Linked DNA regions of Homo sapiens: region 1 is linked to region 2. Evidence: promoter capture Hi-C in 16 types of primary human blood cells and fetal thymus (Javierre and others, 2016). All regions are on one chromosome and are shown on one strand. Each heading gives the region's core, a stretch centred on a gene start or on the middle of the fragment in contact. The rest is flanking DNA. Distances are from core to core; before and after follow the strand shown.

What was found. The method cuts DNA at HindIII sites, captures the fragments that hold promoters and counts their contacts. A CHiCAGO score of 5 or more calls a contact.
Region 1: a fragment that was not itself captured here is called in contact with the fragment with the promoter of H1-7 in region 2 in 1 of 17 cell types (megakaryocytes); the score reaches 7.6 in megakaryocytes.

The regions. Positions count from the first base shown.
Region 1 is chr12:48,453,412-48,456,873 of GRCh38, forward strand. It overlaps a transcript of C12orf54 not described here. Among named protein-coding and RNA genes, the nearest start is that of ANP32D, 17 kb to the right of the region's middle. The HindIII fragment of the contact is 1,315 bases long and covers 1,383-2,697 here.
Region 2 is chr12:48,326,501-48,330,329 of GRCh38, forward strand. H1-7 (H1.7 linker histone) reads left to right here and starts at 2,480. Exons shown (of 1, transcript NM_181788.1): 1 at 2,480-3,779. The coding sequence starts at 2,792. The coding sequence ends at 3,559. RefSeq lists an enhancer at 3,238-3,737. The HindIII fragment of the contact is 4,449 bases long and covers 501-3,829 here.

The DNA of each region.
Region 1 (3,462 bases), core at 790-3,289, 130 kb after region 2:
AGATGATCTGTGCAGCAAACCACCATGGCAAGTGTTTACCTATGCAACAAACCTGCACATCCTGCACATGTATCCCTGAACTTAAAGTAAAAGTTGGAAATAAATAAATGTGTATATATATACACATACATATATATACACATATATATACATATATATACACATATACACATATATATGTGTATATTCATGTTCTGATATTCAAAGAAACTAATTTGCCCAGTGCCTCACAGCTAGAAATTTAAAGATAATGAAGAGCCAGGATTTATCCTCAAGTTTATTTAAACCTAAGGTATCTTTTAAAGAATAAAACAAAATATTTTGCACATTGCCTGTATCAAACACACACACACAATATATATGAAACATATAAGCATAATATCATATATCTATATTCATCTATCTACCTACCTATCCATATCCATATACATGTAATCGTTCACAGCTCATTTATTCTGACCTTGAGAAAACAAAGAAGGTGATATTTTACTTCTCAACCAAACTGAAAAAAGAAGTGCCTTCTTTTGATTTAGATTCATTGTACTTGAAGCCTTCTGTAACTTTGGAGCATCAGGATACCATGAGGTCAGGGAACTCCTGTTATTGTTGAAAAATAAATCAGGGGCTCTAAATTATAGGAAGGAAAATCAAGACAGTTCTCTCTCTCTCTCTCTTTTTTTGTTTGTTTTTTTTTTTTTTTTTTTTGAGACGGAGTCTCACTCTGTTGCCAGGCTGGCGAGAAGTCGTGCGATCTCAGCTCACTGCAACCTCTGCCTCCTGGGTTCAAGTGATTCTCCTGCCTCAGCCTCCTAAGTAGCTGGGACTACAGGCATACACCACCACATCCAGTTAATTTTTTTTGTATTTTTACTAGAGACAGGGTTTCACCATGTTGGCCAGGATAGTCTCCATCTCCTGACGTCGTGATCTGCCCACCTCGGCCTCCCAAAGTGCTGGGATTACAGACTTGAGCCACCGCACCCGGCCAAGACTGTTCTTTAATTCGATTAATCAGATTGGACAGGCTGCATAGTCATTTTTACCTGACATAGAAAAAAGATGAAGACTATCACAAACTGCAGGCAGATTAGAAAGGCCTAGGAGATGTGGGGTTTGCCTGAGCAGGTCTGATTGCTAAGAATAAAGCCTGTGGCCTGCTTTCTGTCCTCCTGCCCCTTCTTCTCTATCTCTTTCCTTCTTTATTTAATGCAGCCTCAGAGGAAAGTTATGCAGCATAAAATAAGTGTTAAAAGAAAAATGCAAAATTATACTTTGACTCTCTTTTTAAGATTGAAATTATTTCTTTGTAACATAAATTCCAAGTATCATATTTTACAAATACTGTTGGGTAACTATAGTAACTTAGTAAATGAAATATGCAAAGCTTAAGGTTGTAAGTCTAGGGAAGGCATTAGAATAAATATGCCAGCATCTTCAGACCTTACAGCTAGGACACTACTGCTTCCTTGTGGCTCAACTTTAGAATGACAAGTTTTGACTACTGCAAGTTTCTTCAAATCATAGGGGCTTCCTTTTGGGTTTGTTTTTCCTTCCAACTTTTAGGTTCAGAGGGTACCTGTGCAGGTTTGTTATGTGGGTAAATTGCGTGTCACTGGAGTTTGGTGTACAAATGATTTCATCATCCAGGTAGTGAGCATAGTACCAGACAGGCAGTTTTTCAATCCCATCCTCCAACCTCAAGTAGGCCCCAGTGTCTATTGTTCTCCTCTTTGTGTCCCTGTGTACTCAATGTTTACCTCCCACTTATAAATAAGAACATGCACGATTTGGTTTTCTGTTCCTGTATTAGTTCATTTAGGATAATGGCCACCAGCTGCATCCATGTTGCTCCAAAAGCCATGATTTTATTCTTTTTGATGGCAGCATAGTATTCTATGGTGTATATATACCACATTTTCTTTTTCCAGTCCACTGTTAATGGGCATCTAGGTTGATTCCATGTCTTTGCTATTGTGAAAAGCGCTGTGATGAACATATGCATACATATGTCTTTATGGTCAAATCAGAGTTTTGACTGCCAATTTTAAGCAGCTCACCAAACCCATGGCTTGGGATGCAGACAGAGTTGTTACAGATCTCAGAGAAACGTCAGCAGAACAGCAGTCTTTGTCAGAGACACAACCATATTCAGCCAAGTTTTTCTTTCAGATCTTCCAGGTTTTGGAGCAGAGAGGCTGAAGAAAAGATTTAAATAACAAGAAAACCTGGAGTTGAGCAGCACCTAAAGATCAGTGAGCAGCTCCAACATGATTGTACAGAAGAGCTAACAGGCACTGGAAGTCTAGAGAACAGGCAGAGATACCCCCTGCACTGTGTAAAATTATGAAAAATGTATCCATGAGGTAAGATTTGATACATACACATAAATGATCAAAATCTGTCCTTCATTGTCTGTTTGACAGTGAATAAGTTTCTTCGCCTTCTATTACTCAGTTGCCTTATTTATAGAACACTAACAATCATAGTAACTACTCAGTGAATTTTCACAATGGTTAAATAGTGATAATAATTAAAAAATAACGTGATTGAATCCTTACCATGTGCCATACGCTATTTTAAGTGTTTTACACTGATTATCTCATTTCTTCTCACAAAAAGTATAAGAGCATATAAAGCTCTTAGCTAATATTATGTCAGTAGTTTGTACTCAATAAATTATCATTTAAAAGTCTGTAAAGCTTTCTCTATATCTCAACGAAGTAGGGAAAACACATTTTTTAAGCAGCTCAGCCAACAACAATTGTTTTCCAGGCACTGTATTGGGCCCTGGGTATATAAAGACGAGTAGGAGAGAGTCTCTGCCTTTAAGACACTCACACTGTAATGAGGAATAAAGTTATACTGACAGCTGTAATGCAGTATAGTAAGTTATACTCTACCAGTGTGACAAGATTGCTATGGGAGTTCAGAGGAGGAAAAATTCAAGCTGTATCAAGTGGTCAGGGAAATAGTTACAGGAAAGATACCATTTGACCCTGCCTTATCTAGAGAAGCAAGTCTTAGAACGAGGAGTGGCAGAAGTCTTCCCGGCAGAGGAACCAGTTTAGTAAAGGAAGAGAGATGTGAACAGGTAGCATTTGAGATTAAGATCATGGACTCTGGAGCCAAAGAGGGTTAAATTTGAATCCCAACTCTGCTCCTCGCCTGCCGTGACCTTGGGAAAGCTATTTCTCTTTGTTTCTTTGCCTGGAAAATGGCTTTGACAATTGTTCTCCATGTTAGGTTGGTTGTGAGGATGAAATGAGATGTTCACATAACATTTAGCATATTGTCTAGCCCATTAGTGCTGTGTTATTATTAATATATTTCCCTCTGTCTAGGTTCTCATCAGTTGAAAAAACTGAACTATCTGTTAATTATCAGCTTTTTTCTTCTTTGGCAAGCAGAATAAACCACATTAAATGCACACATCAATTGTAAGAAGCAGCTGAATCTCAGAAA
Region 2 (3,829 bases), core at 1,230-3,729:
CTGCTTAATGTGGTCCTGCCTTTCCATCTGGCAGTCCTTCCTGGGTGCACTGTCCCTGTGCTGATGCAGTAGTCCCCTGCCCATGTAAATCCTCAGGGTCACATTACTGTGCCCTGATTTTAAAGATGGGAAAAGGTACAGTGAGTGCCTTTAGATACTCTTGAATCTGAGCAGCTCTGAACTGTGATTATGGAGATAAACTAGCCCCTGCTTTATGGTGGAGATATATAATAGGGAAAGGGTCAACCTTAGAGAAAAGGAAACCTAACACAGTACTTAAGAACTTAGGCCTTAGGATTAAGTAGACTTAGGTTTGGTTCCAAACTCTACCACTTGCTACCGTGTCACCACTTACAGCTCTGTCATTATCACTAGTTGTCCTTCCCAATGTCCCTTAACTACCTTTTCAGTCGTATCTCCTGCTACTCCCCTTCTCATTGTCTACCCTCTCCCTGCCCCTCAACACACACCTGTGTTTTAACCAGATAGAACTACCTGGAAGCTTCTTAGAAGGTAAAACCTCTAGCCCTATCTTCAGACCTATGAATTGCACTTTATGAGTATCCCAGGGTATTAAATATGCACATTGAAGTTTAAGAAGCACTGGTCTGGCTGGGCGCAGTGGCTCATGCCTATAATCCCAGCAGTTTGTGAGGCTGAGGTGGGTGGATTGCTTGAGGCCAGGAGTTCGAGACCAGCCTGGCCAACATGGCAAAACCTCGTCTCTACCAATATATAAATAAATAAGGGCCAGGCGCAGTGGCTCACGCCTGTAATCCCAGCACTTTGGGAGGCCAAGGTGGGTGGATCACCTGAGGTCAGGAGTCTGAGACCAGCTTGGCCAACCAGCCTGGTGAAACCCCATCTCCACTAAAAATACTAAGATTAGCTGGGCATGGTAGCAGGAACCTGTAATCCTAGCTACTTGGGAGGCTGAGGCACGAGAATCACTTGAACCCAGGAGGCGGAGGTTGCAGTGAGCCGAGATTGCACCACTGCACTCCAGCCTGGGCAACAGAGTGAGACTTTGTCTCAAAAAAAAAAAAAAAAAATTAGCTGGATGTGGTGGCACATGCTTGTAATCCCAGCTTCTTGGGAGGGTGAGACACAGGAATTGCTTGAACCCAGGAGGTGGAGGTTACAGTGAGCCAAGATTGTGCCATTACATAGCCTGGGCTGAGCAAGACTCTGTCTCAAAAAAAAAAAAAAAAAGCACTGGTCTAAGCTACTTCCTGGAGCTTTGATTTTTAAAAGAAACTGTCACTGTCTAGCCTGTGACTGATGAATGTATGTGATTGCCCTCTGGAAAAGTATGATATGCTTGGCAATTTGAAGTATTCTTAGAATAATACTTTAAATTATTCCCAACTAAACTGTGTCCAAAATAGGTCCTTGATAAGCTAATCCTTACTTGGCCCCCTTCATTTCCAACCCTTTGAAATTCACTCTGCTCCTTTCTCCTGATCTTCTGGAAGTTTCTTTCTGAATCTAGAGAAACTCTCCTCACCAGAGAGGAATGATGTAAGCAGGCTCAATTAAATGCCCGCTGTGTATAATGAAGCATATTGTTAGGTGCAGCATGGGACATAGAAGTTCAAAGACTATAGCTCTTGAGGATATCTTTATTTAGTTGGAAATACAAGACAGAAACATTCAAAGTAAAGTAAATTTATTCCTTATATTTAGGTAGCCCTTGTTCATCTACCTCTTCTGAAATTTTGCAATAATTCTGTGATGTTGGTAGGAAGGGAATGTGATGTTAGATAAGAAGTCAGATGGCCGGCACATCCATCTGACAGCCACACCACTGATATTAAGGGATTTGTTAATGTCATATGGCTCCTAAAGAGCTAGGATATGCATCCATATCTTCCAGCTCCAAGTACGAGTTTTTTTCTTTTTAAAAAATATTGTGTCACATTATACCCTCTAATGCCAAATTCATTTAAAATAAAGAAAAAGCCATATAAGATTGCAGAAGTAATTTTGGTGGTTGTGGTAGTTAAGAGGCAAGAAATCATTTGAAAGAGTTTGGGGAGTCTTCAGTGAAGAAGGATAATGTAGCAGTACCTTGAAAGATGAGCAGGACTTATCTGGGCAGACAAAGAGGATGAGAAATCCAAGAGAGGGGATGAGATGGAAAAAAACACAGTATGTTCAAAGAATAATGATTAGACCAGTATCCTCAGGCGATGTGAAATCTAGATTGTTTCAGTACAGTTGAATGCGTCATCTAAATTTCCCAGGTGTGGGAATCAGTGTTTAGGGTAGAGGGATCACACAATTGGTTCCTTTTTTACTTCATGCTCTTGCACAGAATCCACTGTGTAGAATTAGGGAGACATGACTTCAGATACCTGACTGGTGGAATTAAAGGTGGGAGTTTCTAATCTGGGTTGTGTTTCATGGACTACCCCGTGTACTTTCTACAGGCAGTGTGTTGCTTGTTTTGGATAGTTGGGAGCAGCTTCGCTCACCTTAAGGAACTGTGGGTAGATGGTTTGCAGGACCACATACACACACAAAATAGCCGACTAAAGAAAGCGGTGGAGATCGAGATCAGTAAGTTTGATTTGGGAACAAAACCCTGGAGACTCTATAGGTAGGTGACTGTTGGGGGTGGACAGGCGCTGAAGACTTGGATTGGTTTAGACCTAGAAGGAAGTGGCATTTGATTGGTTATTATAAGTGAAAAGGGCCCCTCCCCGGGTGAGATATGCCAGCCCCATAATTAGGACCTGAAAATCTCTGCCAGGCCTGCCTTTGTGACGTGGCCCAGTCTACCTCAGCTATGGAACAGGCCTTGACTGGTGAGGCCCAAAGCCGGTGGCCCCGCAGAGGCGGGAGTGGGGCCATGGCTGAGGCGCCTGGGCCCAGTGGCGAATCCCGAGGACACTCAGCCACTCAGCTGCCAGCGGAAAAAACTGTCGGGGGACCATCGAGGGGCTGCTCAAGCTCCGTGCTCAGAGTGTCCCAGTTGGTGCTCCAGGCCATCTCCACTCACAAAGGGCTGACTCTGGCAGCTCTCAAGAAGGAGCTCCGAAACGCCGGCTACGAAGTGCGCAGGAAGAGCGGCCGCCACGAAGCGCCCAGGGGGCAGGCCAAGGCCACGCTCCTCCGGGTCAGCGGCAGCGACGCCGCCGGCTACTTCAGGGTCTGGAAGGTTCCCAAGCCCAGGAGAAAGCCGGGACGCGCGAGGCAAGAGGAGGGCACGCGCGCTCCCTGGAGGACCCCAGCCGCGCCCCGGAGCTCCCGGAGGCGCCGCCAGCCCCTTCGCAAGGCGGCCAGGAAGGCCAGAGAAGTGTGGAGACGGAACGCGAGGGCGAAAGCCAAGGCCAATGCCAGGGCGAGGAGGACCAGGAGGGCAAGGCCGAGAGCCAAGGAGCCGCCGTGTGCCAGAGCCAAGGAGGAAGCGGGAGCGACAGCGGCAGACGAGGGGCGAGGACAGGCCGTGAAGGAAGACACCACGCCGAGGTCAGGGAAGGACAAGAGGCGAAGCTCCAAGCCCAGGGAAGAGAAGCAGGAGCCCAAGAAGCCCGCACAGCGGACCATCCAGTAGCCAACGCGGGCTAAAACCGACCGGACATCTAGCGGGCAGGGGAAGACTCCACTAAAGACTTCCACAAAGACCTCCCCTAAATCTGAAGGTCTTCCTGATCCAGTTGGGAATGCATCTTGTGGGAGCAGCTTCACTCCCACCACGGACCAATGCCTTTCCCCCATAGGCCCCAAGAAGAGCGGCTGTCACACTCATTGAAATGAAATGGACCTCTAGACCACCTTGTGTCTGTTTCCTCTTTGCCGCACCTGGAAGGGAAGGGGTGGGTGG